Regions from separate parts of the Homo sapiens genome. Here all the other regions are linked to region 1. Evidence: promoter capture Hi-C in 16 types of primary human blood cells and fetal thymus (Javierre and others, 2016). All regions are on one chromosome and are shown on one strand. The core of a region is centred on a gene start or on the middle of the fragment in contact, and the rest is flanking DNA. Distances in the headings are between cores, read along the strand shown. Region 1 holds the start of NACA2 (nascent polypeptide associated complex subunit alpha 2). Region 2 overlaps BCAS3 (BCAS3 microtubule associated cell migration factor). Region 3 overlaps BCAS3 (BCAS3 microtubule associated cell migration factor). Region 4 overlaps BCAS3 (BCAS3 microtubule associated cell migration factor). Region 5 overlaps BCAS3 (BCAS3 microtubule associated cell migration factor). Region 6 overlaps BCAS3 (BCAS3 microtubule associated cell migration factor). Region 7 overlaps BCAS3 (BCAS3 microtubule associated cell migration factor).

Region 1 (2,837 bases), core at 165-2,664:
AGACTGGAGGTAGAGAGACGGTTTAGTAGGTTATTAGGAAAATCTGGGAGAGGATGATGGCAGTAGAGACACAGAGAGGTGCATGAATCTGAGAAATGCTCAGGAGGCAGTAGCAATAGGACTTGAAGATTTACTGGGTGCCAGAGATTTTAAAGGATAGGGAAGAGCTAAGGATGAGTATCGAGTAGCTGGTTTGGGAATGAAGGGTATGATGGTGACTTTCACTGAGCTGGGGACACTGGAGAAGGAGCTCTAGTCATCCGGTAGAGGAGAGATGATGAGTATACTTCTGGCTATCCTGTGATTGAGGTGCCGGGAGAGTATCCAAGGAAAGACGGTAAGTAGGTGGCTGGATATCCAAATCTGTGTCTTAGGACAAAGATGGGACTGAAACTATTTGAGGATCATCAGCAAGAGAAATGAATCTGATCACCTATGTTGAGTGTGCAGAGTGAAAAGAACACAAGGCCTTGGAAAGACCCCTGAGATGCACTAATATTTAAGAACTGGGTAGAAGAAAAGATGACCACAAAGGAAACTGAAGAATAAGCCAGGGAAGAAGGTAGATCCGGAGAGTACGGCACTTGGAGACCAAAAAAAGAGAGCATTTCTTTTCTTTTCTTTTTCCAGCAAGAAGTCATAACTTTATTTATGATAGAAACAGTACAAATTTCAAACCAAGCTGCAGTTACTCCTTTGAGACACCAAAAAAAGTTGCTTTCAGATGGTTACACTGTTAATTCCATAATCGCATTTACAATATCATTACTGTTGTTCTTCAGAGCTCGGACTGCCTTTGCTCTCGACACATTTGCTTGTGACATGACCAATTTCACGTCTTTAACTTCTACACCTGTTTCATCGACCTCTTCCTCTTCACTCTCCTCTTGTACAGTTGGAGTCTGTGTGTTTTCTTGAATGTTTCCGACAGCTTCACCTTGAACTCTGAATTTCTCCGCAGCTGCTAGTTGTGCTTGCTGAGATAAATCTTGGATCTTGGCTTCCCCAAAAACTATGTAGGCATCCGAAGCAGGGCTCTTGTAGACGTCCAGTTTTGTGATGACAAAGAGGATATTCTTAGATTTCCAGATAGTGACTCTAGTAACTCCTGTAACCTGTAGAAGACCCAGTTTGGACATAGCCTTCCGTGCCCTCTTTTCACTCCGACTCTGTTTTGCTTTACCGACTGGTTCTTCATCAATTTCAGCTGCTGCCACCAGCCAGGCTTTTTGTGTGGTGGTCTGGGTGGAATCCTGTTCTTCAATCCCTGGTACTGATTCACCACTATCAGATGCTGTTCCAGACCCTGTCTCAGCCTGGGACTGCGGCAACTCCTGCTCTGTAGCAGGGACGGTTTCTGTGGCTTCGCCCGGCATTTTGTGCAGGGAACGCGGAAGCAAGATGGCGGCAGAAAGAGCGCGAGCGAGAGCGTGACCCACGCTTGTTGCAGCGGGAAGCAAAAAGAGAGCATTTAAAAAGACATTTGTCAGCAGTGCTACACTGCCATGAGGTCAAGTTGGAATGGAAAAGGATCTATTGGATTTAGAGACTGTAAGTTACGCGGTCTGAGTGGTGCGGTGTGAGTGGCACTTGGGAATTGGTTAATGGTCAGTTCCTTGAAAAAATGACTAAATTGGGGAATCATTTTTTAAAATTTACATTATTTAACATGCTGTTTTAACTGAAAACATATCACTGTACTTTTATTTGCCAATCTTTTGATAGGAGCCGTAAACCTTTCTTTGAGTATTATCTGTTTATTGGAATTCAGCCTCGGTTTTCTCACATAAATCATATCTATAAAGGTATTGTCTATCATTCCCTGTTTTAGTTTATTTAAAATAGACCAAGAACTCAAAGGTGCTCATGAAGCAATCTGAACGCAGAATCCTAGATATGTATGGTTTCCCTCGATCTTTTCTTGCTCCCCCAATGAATGGAAAATTGTAAATGTTTCCAAACCATTCAATTTAATTTGCACAGAAACAACTATTTTATTTTTTCTATTTATATTTCATATAACAGTTATATAATGAGTTTACGTAATAATCAGTTAAATTACATAATTATAGTAATAAGAATACCCAGCATAAATAGGTTAAATAAACACAACTGATTCTTGGTAAGCCTATAACTGTATAGAGAAAACAAAAAATCCATAGAAAAGAAAACCAAAAAACAAAAATCCGCGTATGTACTAGGCAGTAGCACGTTAGCTATAGAGTGTGCCGTTGGCTTCCACCAATATGTTTCACGAAGGCAACAGAGAGTATCAGTCAATTTGCATTATGTTGGCTAAATATACGTTAAGAGAGTTTTTGCTTTAGTTACAGGGGATGACTCAGAAGGCAGTTAGATTGCAGTGGGCTGAGAAGTAGGAATTGAAGAAATGGAAAGATTGGATTAGATCAGAGTACTCTTATAAGAAGTTTAACTGTGCGGGAGGAGACAGTGCAGTAGCTGAAGACATAATTATAGTTGGCGGATAGGTAAACACATATTCTTCCTAAGAAGAGACCTGAGCATGTTTAAATTCTAAAAGGAGTAGTTAAATACAAATGAAAGAGGGAAGTTGATCAGTCAAGGTTCTGAGGAGCCAGGAATGAAATCCATGGCACAAGTAGAACGACTAATCTTGAATAGCAGGAAAGGCATCCTTTTCATTGTAATAGGAGGAAAGAAGAAAAATATGGATTTGGGTGCAAGCAGATTTTTAGGTTTGGTAGCACGATGTCAAAGGAGTTCCCATCTGGTAACATTTATTTTTTTTTTTTTCTAAGAGGCTAGAGGAGCTGTCTGCTGAGAGTGAGGGGAAGGCAAGAGAGTTAAAGGTTTAT
Region 2 (2,875 bases), core at 349-2,848, 620 kb before region 1:
AGGTAATTGTCTGCATCCTGTTGGTGGTATTCATTCCTTTTTGTTCTTTGTCCTTCTCCCACCACCCCCCACACCCCCAATTGTATTTTCAAATAGCCAGTATTTTAGGTCACTGATTCTTTCCTTCACTTGGTCCATTCCACTGTTGAGAGTCTCTGATGACTTCTTCAGTTCAGCAAATATGTTTCTCAGTTCCAAGATTTCTATATTTTTTCCCAATCTCTTTGTTAAATTTCTCTGATAAATTTCTGAATTGCTTTTCTGTGTGTTTGTTGTTGTTGTTGTTGTTGTTGTTGTTTTGGAGATCACTGAGTTTTCTTAAAACTGCTATTTTGAATTCTTGGTCAGAGGGCTCACAGATCACTCTTTCATTAGGGTCTGTCACTGGAGTTTTGCTTTGTCCATTGGAGAGGTCATAATTCCCTACTTGCTGTTGTTTTTTTCGTGTGTATATCTGTATCTTTGCATTGATACTTTATTTCAGTTTTATCTGTCTACCTTGTTTTGATTTTATTGGGTATATTTTGCTTAGTGCATTTTTTTTAATCCTTTTAGAGTCAGGGCTCATTTTGTTGCCCAGGCTGGAGTACAGTGGTGCAGTCATTGCTCACTGTAATCTTGAACTCTTGGGCTGGAGCAATCCTCTAACCTCAGCCTCCTGAGTAGCTAGGACTACAGGCACGTGACACCATACCTGGCTAACTTTAAAAAGAATTTTTTTTGTTGTTGTTGTTAGAGACAGACTCTCATTGTGTTGCCCTGCCTGTCACAAACTCCTGGCCTGAAGTGATCCTCTCACCTGCCTTGGCCTTTCAAGGCACTGGAATTACAAGCATGAGGCAGCGTGTCTGGCCTGTTAGTGAATCTTTACAGCTAAGTTGTTGCCTTTTTTTTTTGGATATAGGTGGTACCTAAAGCCCAGGTTCACCTTGGCTCTGCTAAATGATTGTAGTACTGCCTATCCTGATTTGGGAGCATCCCAAAGTGGTTATCCCCACAGTGTGTCAAGTCTGGCTAGGGGTTTGTGCCCAGGGACCTTTGTAATGTATTGCCTACTACATGGTGCTGCTGAACAGCCACTCTAATTTGGTGTCTCCTTTGGCCAAGTAATGGAACAAAGTTTCCAGGGCTAGGGATGGTAGTCTAGCCTCCCCACTTTGTCTTGGCCTGTCCTCAGGGTTGTTTCTCCCATCAGGCAGCCACGATACTTCCTGCCAGTTAAGGCAAGGATAGTTTTCCTGCCAGAGCACCCAAGATGGTGGGAAAGCTGGTTTACCACCTCAGTCTCACTTTTTCCAGTATAGTCACCATGAGTTGGGGGGGGAGATTTTCTGTGCTCTTGATGCCAGGCAGAATCGGGGGAGGGGCATTACAGATCTGGAAGTCTGAATCTCTTACCATTCACTCTGAGGTTTTCTTTTTCACTTCTCTGTGGCCTCAGGAATTGTCTCATCCTCATATTTGAGTTCTGAGTGTTTCTGGTTAAAATCTCGGTACTATATATTTGTTTTTGGTTTTCTGCAGGGGTAGTGAAGCCAGCTAGCTTCTATACCACCGTTTTGGAACTGGAAGTCTCCATCTTCTAGTAGAAATTATTTTAAAGCATCTATTATTACTATGCTCAGTGATATGAAGGAAAATATGCTTCTTTTAAATAAAAGGGTAGGAAATGTCAGCAGAGAAAGAGAAAATATAGGAAATTACCTAGTGAAAAGTCTACAACTTAAAAATACAATATCAAAAATAAAAATGAAATGGATGTGTTAATAGCAGAATTTGAGTGAGTAAATGAATTTGCAGATAGATCACTAGAAATTTCCAAACCAAATGAGTGAAAAAATAGAAAATAAGTAGAGCCTTAGCAACTTGTGGGACAATATCAGAGCCAACATACATGTAGTTATTGCAGAAGGTGAGGAGAGTAAGGGAGGAAAAAAAATCTAAAAGTGGGAAACTTTCCACTTTTGTTGAAAGACATACATTTACAACTTCAAAAAGATAAGCAAACAACACATAAGATTAAGTACAACAAAAACCATGTCAAAGGACATCATAGTCATTTTTCTGAAAACCAAAGTAAGGAGGAAATCTTGAAAGTAGGCAGACAAAAGTAATGCATTGCACACACAGAAAGTACATTTTAACACACTATTGACTTCTCACTGGAAACCATGGAAGTCAGAAGACAGTGGAATAACATGTCTGAAGGACTCAAAGAATAAAATATTGGCCACCTGAAGTTTTCCATCAAACAACAATATCTCTCAAGGATGAAGGAGCAGTAAAGGCGAGACATCCACACTGTAAATTATGCTAATGGCACATAATACCAGAAGCAAACTTGCAGCTTTAGGAAATAGTGAAGAATATGGTCATTTCTTGTTGAATAGAAAGGATGATTTTTCCCTTTTAAAAATTTGTGTCTAATATATGGGAATGATTGAATTATTTTGTTGGTATTGTATTATATGTACATGTAATACATATGACAACTATAGCACAAAGATGGAGGGTGCTAGGGTGGAGGCAGGTATATGGAGCTGTACTATTGCAAGGTTCAACATTGCTATACATAAAAAATCAATGCTTCAATGAAAATGGCATACTAAAAAATGTTCAGTTAATACAAAAGACAGGAAAGGAAAGGCAGAAGCACAAGAAAAAGAGGGATAAACAGAAAACAGATATTAAATGGTATATCAAAATTCAACCATATAGAAATTAAATATTAATGTACTCCAATATAAAGGAAGAAATTGCCTATAAGGTAGTGTTGAATATAGAGACATTAATATGATAGTAAATGTATATTAAAAGATACATCATCCAAATAAGAAACATAAGAATATTGGAAATTCAACTATATTAGTATCAA
Region 3 (2,787 bases), core at 234-2,733, 560 kb before region 1:
AGAGTATGTCTTGTTCTCATGTATAACCATTTTAAAAAAAAATGGATGAGTCCACATAATCAATACAGTTAAACTTTTGGGCATCAATACAAATTTAAATATTTTTCTATCATTGTATTATTAACTTAATAAATGATTAAATAAATGAGGGAAGGCATCCAAACACCCAGAGAAATTCTTTCTAAACTTGCAAATGTTCTTTAATGAGATTTTTTAAAGACCCCTTTTGGAGGAGAAAGGGAGATGTTGAGAACAAGAGAGAAAAAAAAGGTTAGCATTGGAGTGCTTTCCTATGAGGGTTGGGTCAGCAATCTGTAAATTTACATAATATACAAAGCTAGCACTTTTCTAATACATTCACGTATGTATCATTTTTCAATGTTTTATCTTTCTGTCAACAAAAGGTTATTTTGTGATAGAAATATTCTAGGTCATTGTGGAAAAGTTCATACATTGTATGTCACTGGCATATTGCTAGAAAAGCCCTTCTACTTCTGCCAAGCTTTCTTGGACTTTTAAAAACTTAGGATGAAGGGCAGATTGAACCCAAGTTAAAATTTCTAACTTTGAGTGTATCCCATAGAAGATATTTTATTCATAACGTTCTTTTTATTAGATTATTTCTCCTTTTTATTCCTCTGCAAATCTTAAAGACACACACATATTTTTATGTTTTTATTTTGCTGAAATACCACAATCATTCCAGATTATAGATTGATGATAGAAATAACTTGATATGAATGTGTTTACCCAATATGCTTCATACCCAACACACAACACTATGTTATGTAGCAGATAGCAAGTTATTTTCAGGGTGAAAACTCTTTTGACTCCTTAATAAACACAGACTTTTACTAATGAAATTTAAGGCCCTATCAGAGGAAAAAAGAAATGATGAAATATAAAAATAAAAATGGTAATTCTTTACTGAAATTAAGCATAGTTTTACCATAAAATACTTATTTTCTGTAGGAGATACTGAGCTTATGTAAAAATAACACCGTGTTGATGCTTTTTACTTGTGTGTTCCAAAACAGAATTGTATGTAACTTATAGATGTATAAGAGATTTTAGCTTTTGACATGAGCTGATTAGACTCTAAACTAGTAAACATACAAAAAATATTTTTTGTATGTCAAAAAACTAAATTGACGTCCTCTCATTTTTCTACTTTTTATTATCATGTTAGAAAGTTTGCCATCTGGCCTGGAAGCAACTATTTTTAAGTCTGTTTAGGATGCATACTTCAGAGGGACCATATTTTCTCTTAAGAAGAGGCATGCTCACTTGTTACTTACCACATGATTTAAAAACAACAACAATGACATCCAGTAATTTGCAAAGAGCTTTGAGTTTGTCCCAATGAAGCTTGTTGGTACATTGTAGTAGCTTTGTTCTCTGATGGTGATTCTAGTAAAAGCACATAGTCGCACAATTGCAAACTGCTTTCAAAAAATTCTACAATACTTTTCTCTTTCCCGTTCCCCCAGCCACCATCTTCCCAAAACTCCTAAGGATTAAAAATGACCAGTGGTACCTCAAAGATACCAGCTAGAGGAATTTGTCAGTTCAATGATAGCAGTTTAGTGATGGAAATAAAAGCTTTGAAAGAAGCCTTATATTCTCAGGTAATGCAACAGAGAGCATCATAACCAGAAAGAACAATTCTGATGCCAGTGACCCAGATATCATGGGAAGGTGCATATTTGTTCAGGTATAGGGCAGAGAAGAGTCTTCCTTTCTGGAGGTATGTTACTACAGTTGTGACAGATGCAAGTATGAAGAGGTGAAACAGTTTATAGAGCCAGATTCAGCTTCCCACAGAAACTTTTTATTTAAAAACGATGTCTTTATTCCCTGTCACTGGAAGTCTCACTGTGACTGGTTGACATTTTAGGCATGGATGTTTTTTGTTGCAGGAATAATGAGAAGTGTTTTAAGAAATGTAAATGGCAGAAGAGGTTTCTTTCATATATAGTAATATGCATTACCATGGATTTTGTTCAAAGTGGGGAGACCAAAGGGACCAATCATAGTTGCCTCTGATCCAGACTTAGCCATCCTTAGAGGAAGATGTTTAAACAAGCCTCAGGAAATAAGATGTCTGAGAGACTATTTAAAATGTCATAGGAACTGGGAAACTGAGATTACCAAAGCAAAGTCTGAATTTTTTGAAGATTAGGTTGGGGCTGAGGGCCATATAGAAAAGTTAGTATTTGCTGAGTACTGTGATATGGGAAAGTACTGCCCTGGGAACTTTACCTGCTTTGTCTAATATAGTGGTTCTCAGAGTTGAGCATGCATCAGAATCATCTGGAGGGTTTGTTTCAAAACACGGATTGTTGGGCTCCATTCCCAGAATTTCTGATTTAGTAGGTCTGGGATGGGGCCTATGAGTATTTGCTTGCACTCCTAAGAAGTCCTCAGGTGGTACTATGAGCTGGGGACAGTGCTTTGAGATAATATAATCATTAAAATAATCCTATGAAGTAGGCATTACTATTTCTATTTTACATATTAGTAGTCTGAGCTCTGAGAGGTTACATAACTTAACCAAAAGTCACACAGCTCAGAGGTGCCAGCACTGGGATTCAACTACATGTTTCTTCCTGACTCCAAAACTATCTCTTTCCATCCCACCATACTTTAGTAAAGGATGAAAACAAAAATTGAGCAAAATAAGGTAGAACTAATGTTTGACATTGGAGGCTAACTAGCAGAGAGGAACATCAGAGCTCTAGTTTTTATTGTTTCCTACCTTGGCTGTGATCTTTACCAGTGCACGAT
Region 4 (2,700 bases), core at 2-2,501, 820 kb before region 1:
GACAGGTTCTCACCGTATTTCCCAGGCTGGTCTCGAACACCTGCACTTAAGTGATTGGCCTGCCTTGGTCTCCCAAAATGTTGGATTTACAGGTGTGAGCCACTTTGCCCGGCCTTACTGTTATGTTCGTTGTGTGTTTTAGATAATAGTCCTTTATCAGATAAGGCTTTTGGAAATATCTTCTACCTATGGCTTGTCTTCTTATTTTCTTTACAATGCCTTTTACAAACCGTATTAAAATATTTTCTTTCCTTCCTCTGCATGGATTTTAGCTCACTTGATGTCGTTTCACAACTCACTGATGCTCTGATCACTTTTGAAGTCTTTCCCTCCCCTCTTGTTCCAGTAGTTTCTATTGGTGCCTCTTCATGTTTCTTCATGTTTTTTTTCTGCAGTATCTAATGTTGTTAACCCATCCAGTGTATTTTTTTCTCTCAGACACTGCATTTTTCACTTACAATTTGCGTGTACATGTGCATGTGTGTGTGCAGAGACAGAGATCTTCCATGTGCCTGGAGACATGTTCACTTTCCTCTCCTTGAATAAATGGAATATGTTTATCATAGGAATTTTAATGTGGTTATCTAATTTGATTCTGTTGATTGATTTTTCTCCTTATTATGGGTTGTATCTATTCCTGCTTCTTTGCATGACTTAAAATTTTTGTTTGGATGCCACACATTTTGAATTTTGTGTTGCTCAGGACTATTTTGTATTCCTTTAAATATTTTTGGTTTTGTCCTGGGACACAGTTAAACTACTTGGCAATAATTTTATTCTTTCAATACTTTCTCTTACTCTTTGTTAGGTATTCCTAGAATAGCCATTAGTCTAGAGCAGGGGTCTGTAGACATTTTCTTAAGAGAGCTAGATAGTATTTTAGGCTTGTGGGCCATCTGTCCTGACTATTCCACTATTCATCTCTGCCCTATTGGGCAAAAGCAGCCATTGACAATACTCAAATGAATGAGTGGTAAGTTGGGGCATTCACAGGGCTCACATCAATTGTTTCCCTTGTCTCAAGGATCACTGTCCTGGGCTGCGTGTTGTTGGATGTCTGAAACTGTTTTTTATATATTTTATCTGTTTCTTAAGTTTTCCTGGCAGGAGGGTAAATCTGATCTGCTGCAGAGGTTCAGCATTTTGCCTTAGTTCCTTGTTTTGGATGACTTAAGAGTGCTTAGGATAGCGCTTGGCATGTAGTAAAAGTCCTATGTGAGTTTTTATAAATAAAGAAAAAAATAAATTTCAAATTGAATTTCATTTGTAAGACAGTTTAAAAATTTTAATGTATCTTTGGAGAAGTTAAGTTTCAAACACTTTGAAAGATGCAGGCATTATAGAGAAATTTCTGGAGGTATCATAGCATTAATTGTGGGGTTTTTTTTCTCTCGGGTGCTAGATGCAGTAGCAAAAGAAAGTGATAAAAACACCAAGGGATTCCTTTATTTCTTTTGATCTCATGAATAGGTAAAGGAGTCTTAAACTTTCCTTCTCCTCTTAACTATCAACAAGGGACTACTATGATTCTTGCCTTTCAGAGTCTGGCATCATTTTTTTCTTTCCCCATGATGCTTTTAGTCTTAACAACAAGAAGTGTGGGCCTCCATGTTATCATTTAAACTATCTTTTTGGCATCTACTGTTTAGTTTAACCTAGTTTTCACTGAATTTTTTTCTCTTGTTGTTGTTACTGTACTTTGCAGTTTTTATGTATATATAGGTTTACCTTGGGAATATTTCAGAATTTCTTTTTTTTTTTCATTTGTAGAACATGGAAATAATCTAATTTGAGGCCAAGTGAATTTATGTAAATTTATAGTTAGCAGTAACAACCAGACACACTAATAAAAACCTTCTAATATTAAAAGAAGGAAAACAAAAACCGTGTGTGCAAAGGAATGATCCGCACAAATTATAGGATACTGACTACCTGGCAGTGGGTAGTAGGGTTTGGGATGTATGAGTCTATATAAGTAAATGAAAGTTTTTGGCAGTGTTTTACTTCTTATGGATGAGGGGGTCATAGGTGTTTATTATTAAAGTATAAAGAAGAGGTCCATGCATTCATTGAGAAGAAATGAACCAAGAATTATGAATGGTCTAATTCTTTGTACTCAGTGCTCAAAGTGGAGAGGAGAAAGATGCAAATGAGAGAAACAGAACATGCAGTCTTTATTGGATTGGAAATAAAAAATTAGAATTGTGAATTAGAGATTAAAAGCAAAGTTTTGAGTGAAGAATTTAAAGAGAGACTTATTTCCCTCTGTATGGGAAATACATACAGTATTTTGCCCTGAGAAATTTTCTTTGTATAAAGTCGTGCTTCACAGTTTGTTAATGTTTTAAATTCATCATAACAGTATTGACTCAGTTTTGTACTTTTAAAGTAATCTGTGTGTGTGTGTATAGATGTATATGTATACTCTCTAATCAGAATGACTCCATATATAGAGCTAATATCAGCTGTTGGTATTTTATTCATATTTTTGAAAATGCCAGTATAATATCTCACATTAGTTGTTTAACCTTTATACATTAATATTAGTTTTCCAAATGTAACTAATGTCCTTCTTTAACCTATCTTATAACAATATAAGAACAAATGGCTGTGCGCGGTGGCTCACGCCTGTAATCCCAGCACTTTGGGAGACCGAGGCTGGCGGATCACAAGGTCAGGAGTTCGAGACTAGCCTGACCA
Region 5 (3,034 bases), core at 176-2,675, 580 kb before region 1:
ACCTAGCAAATTATTTATTGGAGTATTCGTACATAAATATATACAGTTTCAATTCTCCTGAAAGTACACTTTTAATTCTAGTGACATTTAATAAGCCCTAGGCAAAGCTCCATGCAGGCTACTTTGTATGTAGTGGGGAGAAGTGATGACACTATCATTAATAATCTCAATCCCCATCCTGTTTAAAAAAAAAAAAGAAAGATTGGATTCTTGTTTTCAAGTCCATTTTGTGGGAGATTTCTCTAATCTTCCTACCTTCTCACCCTTTCTCAAAGTACCTACAGTAATGTCTATGGTGACGTGAACTTTTTACTCAAAGAAAGCAACAAGTGTTTTTGCTTGAAATGCATCAAAAATTGCAGTGTTTTTACTTCACCATCGATTGCCTCCAAAAAAAAGTTATAGGCAAAATGAATCAGTGCCCACACAGGATTGTCCTTCAGTATTTTCTGTCTTTATTTGTCACCCAAACTGTTTGTTGTGTTTATAGTCTTTAAAAATGTGTGTCTGTGTGTCGACACACACACACACACACACACATAAAATTCATTTTCTTTTAGTGTGTGTTCTACTCTCCTTGGCTCCTGTGAACAAGCATTGCTTCCGCCCAGTTTGGTATGTGGGTCAGAAGGCACTGTTTCTCACCAGGGTGCTGCTGTTTCCTTTTCCGACTTGAGTAGATTGCAGATTATACTGGAACATGCCTGAGAAAAGGTCATAAAGGAGGGTGAAAGTCCTGGAACTGCAGCTGGGAAGCTTGACATTCTCATCTAGGAAAGGGGAGAAGAGAGAGATGGAGAGAGAGACACACACTCCCATCCCAACCAAAAATAACCCACCTGCAGGAAATTCCCTTCTACACAGGGTATTTTTTGTTAAATAACTATTGAGAGTTTGGTTGAAAAAACTTTAATGTTAAATTGGATGGCAAGCAAGAACTAAGCAGTGTTTTTAACTTTTCAGAGCCCACATTTCCAGTGACTATTTCAAAACAAGCTACCATTGTATTCTTTGACAGAGTCAAGAAGTCAGAGCTTTTCAACTACAGAATTAACTTAGTTAAACTCCTTGGTATATTTTAGATTTTTATCCCTGTCAATTCCACAGCAAGATATTAAAAACAGTCCAAAAGCTTTGCTCTTCTGTAGAAGACAAAAGTTTACCAAAAAATAAAAAATAAAAAAATAAAAAAAAAGGCCCCGTAGAACTCATCATCTAGTTTTTATTTTTGAAAGATATGATATAGGGAATAGAACATCTACATGATGTCTTAGAATAGGTAAAGTGTTGCAAAGAGGGCAAAAATAAAGGAGATATTTGGGACTGGGGCTGTTTCCGTAGAATTGTCTTCTGAGGAGTGCCAGAGAGTCACATTGACCTCGGGCTTCAGTGTGGCTCAGTAATCCGATTTCAAAATGCAAGAGTTCCAAATAGGAGACCAAAGACACTAGGTGAGGAGCTTATATCCTAGAACAATAGTGGGTGTTGTAGATAAGTGTATGGAGAGGTGATGAGAACAGAATTTAATACAGTCGTAGGAGTCTAGAGTACTGAGTTATAGGAAGGTGTCTATTGTAAACCTTCAGAAAAGTGGAGTGCCTAAAGTGGATAAGGTCTGTGTCTGTGGTAAGAATAAGTGGGATGATATGTGGACCTCCTAATAACACTGCTCTTTCACAGGGCACCATTGCTTAGTGTCCTTTAGCTCTTTTTGCAAATGAAGCTTTGCCGTTTCTATACTTATCTCTAATACTCTAATACTATACTTACCTCATATGTCTAATGACAACAGAAGGACAGTGCTCTTTTTATCCTCCAAATGTTTCACTTGACCCACTTTATTCCATTGTAGGTCTTAGTTTCTCATACCTTCTGTTCCTAAAGAATCTTTCTTTGTCCTCCATTAACAATAACTTTTAGAAACCTGTAACAAAAATTTCTCTCTCTCTCTGGTATGACACTCCTTTAAGGTACTTTCTGATCTACAACTATTGTCATTTGATTCCTTAATGTTATTTTAACTGATTTTATGTCCTTTGGTTCACAATATGGTAAGATATGGAAATTTTTTAAAGGTAGAAAGGATGCAAATACATTCATTTTTTATTTTCCCTCTTCTTGTTTGTATCTCGGAAGAAAGACAACTATACATATGTACACACAGATACACTGATAGTAACTTTAATATTTAACATAATCTGAAATGTTCAACAATTTCAGTTTTGCTAGCTTCAGAGAGTTCTTGCAGTTGGCAGTTTGCCACATTCACATGTTCTCACATCACTGCATTCAGAAGCTAAGAATACCAACCTGGCAGCTTCTGCACAGAGGGTAAAGATAAAACAGAAGGGAGTCTAACTTTGCAGCCACATTACCTGGGAGTTGCTGCTGATGTCTTTTCCACAAATGTCCAAGTTTGTCAAAGCCCAGTAAATCTTAGAAAGTTTATTTTCCTTGTAGCATCTGTGTTTTATAATGGGTCTTTTAATTTGTTTTTACTTTGTCTGCAGGGATTTCTTTTGTCCGGAGTTTTCAGACTCTGTCTTTTTTTTTTTTTTTTTTTTCCTGTGGAAGTGAGTCTGTTAATGATGACTGGTTTGGGAATATGCCTCTCTGCAAAGCTGACCTGACAAGCTATTCCTCCAGCGTGGCAACAAAGCCCATTGTTATTTTCTCTGTTCACTTTTATCCTCAACTTAATCCATTTTTCTTCTGTGTTTTTATAGTATAGAATGTCTGGGAAAACATAATTTAGGACAAAGCATAAGTAAGATGGTATTTTGAAGTTAGCAAAACTTTTAGTAAACAGATCACACCATGTCATTCTCATATATGCAGACAGTGGAACTATGTGTTAGTATGGAGATTGAGAGTTTGTGTCCCCCAAAGTACACGTACCTGTAGATATCCTTTATCCAAAAGGTAACAGGAAAAAAAGAGCACAAGAAGTTGTTTTCATAATTCCTTTTTTTTTTTAAATTGCAAACTTTTAGAAGATAAACATAGAAAGTCAGTGGTTGAACCCGAAAGTGAA
Region 6 (3,128 bases), core at 399-2,898, 730 kb before region 1:
TCCAGCTACCGCACTCCAGCCTGGGCGATACAGCCAGACTGTCTCCAAAAAAATAAAAAAAAAATTATAGATTCATTTAGATGAAAATGTTTAGTGACTTCTTGTTGATTTTTGTCTTCTATATTTATAATATTTTTCCTTTTAAGAAATCTGGTTTAAATATTTTGTTTTATAGTTCATAATTACTTAATTTAACCTTTTAATTTTCAATAAAAGAAGCATTTTTTGAAATTTGTTCTTTAAATACTTTTAATTAACCCTCTTCACTGTAATGAATTCACTGTGTAAATTCCATACCTTTGGCTGTTGTAATATATAAAAATGAGGACCTTTTCCTCCCTAATAAAATCTTAATAACTTCCTTTATGGGTATGGGTCAAATGTACAGTAGGTAACAGATTGTTCTGATAAAATTTCAACACACATGCTCAGTAATTCACTATAAAACAAGTTACTTACATAAAGAAAAGGTCAGTTAAAGAGAATTTGCATTCATTTCTATTTACATTTATCATGAATAGTGTAAAATGCCTTTACTATGCATTTTTATATGTATATATGGGATCCTGGGCACAAATTACAGATTTTTAAAGAAGCATTTATTAATAAAAATTGCATCCTTCCTGCCTTTCCTACAGCCTCTGATATTTGCTTACAGTAGATTCAGTTACATTCTAAACTTGGCTCTAAAAACTTCTTCTAGGAACTTCCCCCCACTTTATGCTATTAGGTTTACCTTTAAGGTCATAGCCCCATGTTTAAATGTCAAACACAATCCTTTAAAAATAATCCATTAGAGCTCTGTAGAAGTCACATGAAGACTGTATTCTGTGTAAAACTTTCTTGTGGCACTGTTTTCTACACCATTTTTGGCTTGTATGATAGAAAATAAAAGCTTGTTTCATGTCTGTCTATTTTAGTATAACACCTTATGGGGCATGCATACTGATTATTTTATGGAAAGCACTCTCATCAGCCTGCCCATGAGGAAAATTAAGATTGTCTTGCTATGTTCCATGGAAATGGTCAAGGCTTTTCAAAAGAGAAAACAGAGAACAAAAGAATATGTCGGGCGTGCACCCAACTGTGTTATTGGCAGGAAACGTGCTGACTCCTTTGTGAATGTGTGAATTTGTGAAGACCCTTATTTTAAAGAATTATCTTTTCCTATTAGTTGTTGAATGAGAGGTTTTTCTCATATATAAATAGTTTATGGTTCTGACAAATTTTGTTCAGTTATCTATAAACTGAGCTTTCGTAACATTTGTTTTGTCTGTTTCTAATGAAGGCTTGTTGCATGAAGATTCTCAGTTGTGACATTGTATGGATGATGCCAGTGAAGTGATCGGAGTTCCAGTATCTAGTGTGTTGTAGCCATCATGAGCTCCTAATTGAAGGCGACAGGCTGCTTTTTTCCCCTCCTAGTTGGTCAGGCAAAATGTTAGATTTCATTCATTATTAACTCATTCCTTATCAGCAGAGGACTGGATTAATTTGTAGGGAACATAAATAATTTTTGCTTTGTGTCAATTTTAGAGATTGAAGTTCAGGCTTATACAAGATTCTCTCCCACCTCCAGTTGTTCCAATTGTATGCATTTGTGTAACTACCATCATAAAAATGATACACTAACATTTCTGTCACACCAAAAGTTTCTCGTGCCACTTTGTGCTCCATACCTTCCTCCTTTCCCTCTCTCTTGCAACACTGATTTGCTTCCTATTATTATAGTTGTGGCTGTTGTTTTTTTTTTTAACTTTTCATAGAAGGGACTCATACAGTGTGTAGACTTTTATGTATAGCTTCCCTACTCCCACAGTCATGGTATTGAGATTCACTTTTGTTGTTTTATAGATAATTTGTTCTTTTTAAATGCTGAGTACTTTTCATTGCATTAATATGTAACTGTCCATTCACCTATTGATGGACATTTAATTGTTTCTAGGCTTTTTATTATGGCTAATAAAATACCTAGTTGTGACATATGGAAAATGTATGTTTAATTTTTTTACAAACTGGTAAACTATTTTTCAGAGTGACTGTACCATTTTGCGTCTCCAGCAGTAATGTGTGAGGGCTTCAATTAGTTTGCATTCTTGCCATAACTTTGTACTACTAGTTTTTAAAATTTTAGTCATTCTATTGGGTGTAGTGGTATCCATTAGTGGTTTCAACTTGCATTTCCCTGATAATTAAATATGTTGAACATCTTTTCATGTGCTTACTTGCTATCTGTATATCTTCTTTAATCAAGTATCTTTAAACATATTAGGGCCATTAAAAAACTGTATTCTTCTTTTTGCTTCTACAACAGTTATCATAGAATTATCGTCATTTTATTTATTATGAACACCTTTATTTTTTATTTTTCATGCATGAAATCATTTATTTTAGAGCTAATGTAAGCTTAGCCCACATTATAATGTTATAACATTAATTTTAATGCTGACATTAAAATTAAACATTAAAACAACATTGATACAGAAAATAAACATATGACTTAATATGTACAAGAGAGTTAGCAAGAAAAACTTGATAAATAATTTTTTTTCCAACTTTTATTTTAGGTTCTGGGGGTACGTGTTCAGGTTTGTTACATCAGTAAATTGTATGTCACTGGAGTTTGGTGTACAGATTATTTTGTCACCCAGGTAGTGAGCATAGTACCCGATAGGTAGTTTTTTGATCCTCACTCTACTTCCACCCTCCTCCCTCAAGTAGGCCCCGGTGTCTGTTGTCCCCTTCCTTGTGTCCATGTGAATTCATTGTTTAGCTCCCACTTAGAAGTGAGAGCATTCTGTATTAGGTTTTCTGTTCTTGCATTAATTCGCTTAGGATAATGGCCTCCAGCTGCATTTATGTTGCTGCAAAGGACACGATTTTGTTCTTTTTTATGCTGTGTAGTATTCTGTGGTGAATATGTACCACATTTTTTTTTTTTTGAGATGGAGTCTCGCTCCTGTCGCACAGACTGGAGTGCAGTGGTGTGATCTCAGCTCACTGCAACCTCCACCTCCCAGGTTCAAGCGATTCTCCTTCCTCAGCCTCCTAAGTAGCTGGGATTACAGGTGTGCACGACCACGCCCAGCTAATTTTTGTATTTTTAGTAGAGATGGGGTTTCACCATG
Region 7 (2,731 bases), core at 171-2,670, 760 kb before region 1:
CCTTAGTATTTTGCATTTTGCACACTTATACTTTTGCATTGCATCTGTGACCATTCATTCATATAGTAGTTTTGTGAATTGTGAATGAGGGCTATTTGTTTGAACTACCAAGTTTCAAAATTATGTTACAAACAATTTATTTTTATTTCGTTCGGTACATATGTTTACAAAAACTTTAATCAGTGGTAAGGCACTTATATATTTTCACTTCACGTATTCTTTCAAAACTGTAATTATCCACATTTGATATAATAGATATATTTTGCAACATTTGGCTTTGTCATTTGACGCCCCTTCATTTTCCGCTCAATTCCAACTGCCTTTACAAGAAAAGCCAAATAAGAAAACATTTTACTTCTCTGTCTACTATGAAAAGTAATCTGTCAAAACGTGAAACTACTTTTTAAAGCTGTATTTATATCTGTAGGTATTTGGTGCAATTTAAGTTATATTTCACTATAAAATAACTGCATATTATCATTAGAAGGATTTAAATCATCATGTGATATTTTTCTGATTCTAATAACAGGAAAGAGAAATTATACTAATGTGGCTTTATCACAAATTATGTAATATAATAACATTTATGTAAAATGAATGTAAATATTCTTACTAGTTTTCAAACAAAACATTTTATGGTACAAGAGGAATAATTTTGTTGTACTTCAATAATATGTCAGATTTCTTAGAAGTATTAATTTAGAACAGGATATTTTATTGTCTTCTTAATAAAGATAAGCAAAAGCTTAGATTTTTCTGCTATCATTTTAAGAATTGACAAGGAAAATAATTGACTATAAATTTTTACACATATCCTTCTCTAAAATGTTTCCTGTTCTGTCTTGATATAACAGGTTGTTCCTTGATTTTGAGAATTAGACTTTAAGCATAATCTATTAATTTTGGCTTTACTTCATTTCTCAGCATGTCTCAAATGCTGTGATGAACTTTGGTTACTTTGAAATGTTTAGTGAAGTGGTTTCTATTGATTTCATATGTGTACTCAAACTAATCTACATTGGTAGATTATCAAGTTTTAAGATGATACTAGAGTAATAAAACTGGGCATACTCTTTCACAGTATAGTAGTATATTTGGCCTCACTGTGCTTGCTTGGCAGAAGATGGTATAATTAACATCTTTTTATGAGTTGAGCTAGACTTTAGTATCCTCATTTCAAGTACCCCATGTTTTTTTGTTAGCTATGGTTGTGTGTATCTGTTAATATGAAAAATGACTCTGTATTTTTTTGTTTATCATAACTGATAAGGAGTTTTAAGTTATATTGCTTTTAGGGAAATAAATCCCGGCAACATCTTGCTTTTTGTGGTTGTTAGTGCTTCTACTATAACCAACTTATAAATTTTCCCTAGTATATTCTTTTAGTTTTCAAAAGTTCCTTATAATAGTATGACTCAAAACTAACTGTACATGATTTTTAGGGAACTTTATGATGTATTTCTTTATCATTAACTAAAATTTTAATGTTTAATTTTTAACTGGTCTGTTTTGCCTCTCTATTCTTCTGTATTCCTCTGCCAGCAGTTTCTGCACTTTTGTTATCTATCAGAAGAAAGCGATAAAATAGGAAAGTACAATAGAATCTTCTAATGGACATTAAATTCATATATCTTCCAAAATTAAAAAATAATGAACAATTTATTAATATTTTTGCTATTAAAGCTATAAATATATTTTTCTTTTACATGTGGATTTACAATATGAGATTTTTAGTATCCTGAATTACTACTTTCAAACAGTACACTGTAACAGTTATGCTATTATTATGGCTGATTATATTATCTACTACATGAATACCGAAGGCAGATTTGTTAGTTTTTTCTTTGGTTATTTGGAAACCTGATGTTACTGAAGTCAAGGTTGAAACTTCAGTCTTCTTTTACTTCTCTTCTTCATCTATAAATAGATTTCCTAATCAACCAGTAAATGAGTATCAGCAACTTAAATATTACATGTTTTAGCAACCAAAATCTTTGCTATTGTTAGAAACATTTCCACTGGTAGTTTATTGCTGAATATTAAAGATTAAAGTGTTCCTTTTTTAAAATTTGAAGATTGAATCAAATGTTTAAAGAAAAGCTTTTCTTATCAGGCCATGGTTGCTGCAATAAAAGAAAGAAAGAGAGGCTTTCCTGTATAAAGTTTTACCTACATCATAGGGTTATTGGAAAGGTTAAATGAAATAGTACTTGTAAAGCCTTTATAACAATGGGTGGTATTTATCAAATGTACAATATTCATATTCTCGTGATGAAATTATAGATATTATACAGCAGTAACAGATATTAGCCTTATTAGAAAAGCAAGATTCACAAAAGGTAGAATGTCAAACATTTTAGGATGTTTGTTTCAGAAATGGAATTTTCCCAAGTATGTCTCCTGAATTTCTCATTTAGTCATTAATTGTTTAGACTTTTAAATGAATTTTAAAAAATGGATTCTCTAAAAAAATTTTATCCTCTCAGCTTTTTTGGGAGATTTTTAGAGGAGTTTTAGGGTCACAGCAAAATTGAGTGGAAGATACAGAAAGTTCCCACATATCTCCTGCCCGCATACATTTATAGCCTCTGCCATTATCAACAGTCCCCACTAGAGTGGTACATTTGTTATAGTTGATGAACCTACATTGACACATTGACACATCATTATCACCCAGATTCCATAGTTCACATTAAGGCTCACTCTTGGTGTTATACATTCTGTGGGGTTG

Evidence for each region. The method cuts DNA at HindIII sites, captures the fragments that hold promoters and counts their contacts. A CHiCAGO score of 5 or more calls a contact.
Region 2: a contact is called between a fragment that was not itself captured here and the fragment with the promoter of NACA2 in region 1, in 5 of 17 cell types (M1 macrophages, naive CD8 T cells, M2 macrophages and 2 more). The highest score is 6.7, in M1 macrophages.
Region 3: a fragment that was not itself captured here is called in contact with the fragment with the promoter of NACA2 in region 1 in 1 of 17 cell types (M1 macrophages); the score reaches 5.5 in M1 macrophages.
Region 4: a fragment that was not itself captured here is called in contact with the fragment with the promoter of NACA2 in region 1 in 1 of 17 cell types (erythroblasts); the score reaches 5.3 in erythroblasts.
Region 5: a contact is called between a fragment that was not itself captured here and the fragment with the promoter of NACA2 in region 1, in 1 of 17 cell types (M1 macrophages). The highest score is 5.3, in M1 macrophages.
Region 6: a fragment that was not itself captured here is called in contact with the fragment with the promoter of NACA2 in region 1 in 1 of 17 cell types (erythroblasts); the score reaches 5.4 in erythroblasts.
Region 7: a fragment that was not itself captured here is called in contact with the fragment with the promoter of NACA2 in region 1 in 1 of 17 cell types (erythroblasts); the score reaches 5.2 in erythroblasts.

What each region holds. Positions count from the first base shown.
Region 1 is chr17:61,589,805-61,592,641 of GRCh38, forward strand. It overlaps NACA2 (nascent polypeptide associated complex subunit alpha 2), which reads right to left and starts at 1,415. Exons shown (of 1, transcript NM_199290.4): 1 at 617-1,415. The coding sequence starts at 1,376. The coding sequence ends at 729. The HindIII fragment of the contact is 7,754 bases long and covers 1-2,837 here.
Region 2 is chr17:60,967,681-60,970,555 of GRCh38, forward strand. The region is part of intron 14 of BCAS3 (BCAS3 microtubule associated cell migration factor); the gene reads left to right. Among named protein-coding and RNA genes, the nearest start is that of BCAS3-AS1, 170 kb to the right of the region's middle. The HindIII fragment of the contact is 4,247 bases long and covers 1-2,875 here.
Region 3 is chr17:61,030,923-61,033,709 of GRCh38, forward strand. The region is part of intron 16 of BCAS3 (BCAS3 microtubule associated cell migration factor); the gene reads left to right. Among named protein-coding and RNA genes, the nearest start is that of BCAS3-AS1, 100 kb to the right of the region's middle. The HindIII fragment of the contact is 234 bases long and covers 1,367-1,600 here.
Region 4 is chr17:60,773,833-60,776,532 of GRCh38, forward strand. The region is part of intron 6 of BCAS3 (BCAS3 microtubule associated cell migration factor); the gene reads left to right. Among named protein-coding and RNA genes, the nearest start is that of BCAS3, 97 kb to the left of the region's middle. The HindIII fragment of the contact is 4,331 bases long and covers 1-2,700 here.
Region 5 is chr17:61,007,525-61,010,558 of GRCh38, forward strand. The region is part of intron 15 of BCAS3 (BCAS3 microtubule associated cell migration factor); the gene reads left to right. Among named protein-coding and RNA genes, the nearest start is that of BCAS3-AS1, 130 kb to the right of the region's middle. The HindIII fragment of the contact is 591 bases long and covers 1,131-1,721 here.
Region 6 is chr17:60,856,644-60,859,771 of GRCh38, forward strand. All of the region lies in intron 7 of BCAS3 (BCAS3 microtubule associated cell migration factor), which reads left to right. Among named protein-coding and RNA genes, the nearest start is that of BCAS3, 180 kb to the left of the region's middle. The HindIII fragment of the contact is 1,511 bases long and covers 894-2,404 here.
Region 7 is chr17:60,833,528-60,836,258 of GRCh38, forward strand. All of the region lies in intron 7 of BCAS3 (BCAS3 microtubule associated cell migration factor), which reads left to right. Among named protein-coding and RNA genes, the nearest start is that of BCAS3, 160 kb to the left of the region's middle. The HindIII fragment of the contact is 1,355 bases long and covers 744-2,098 here.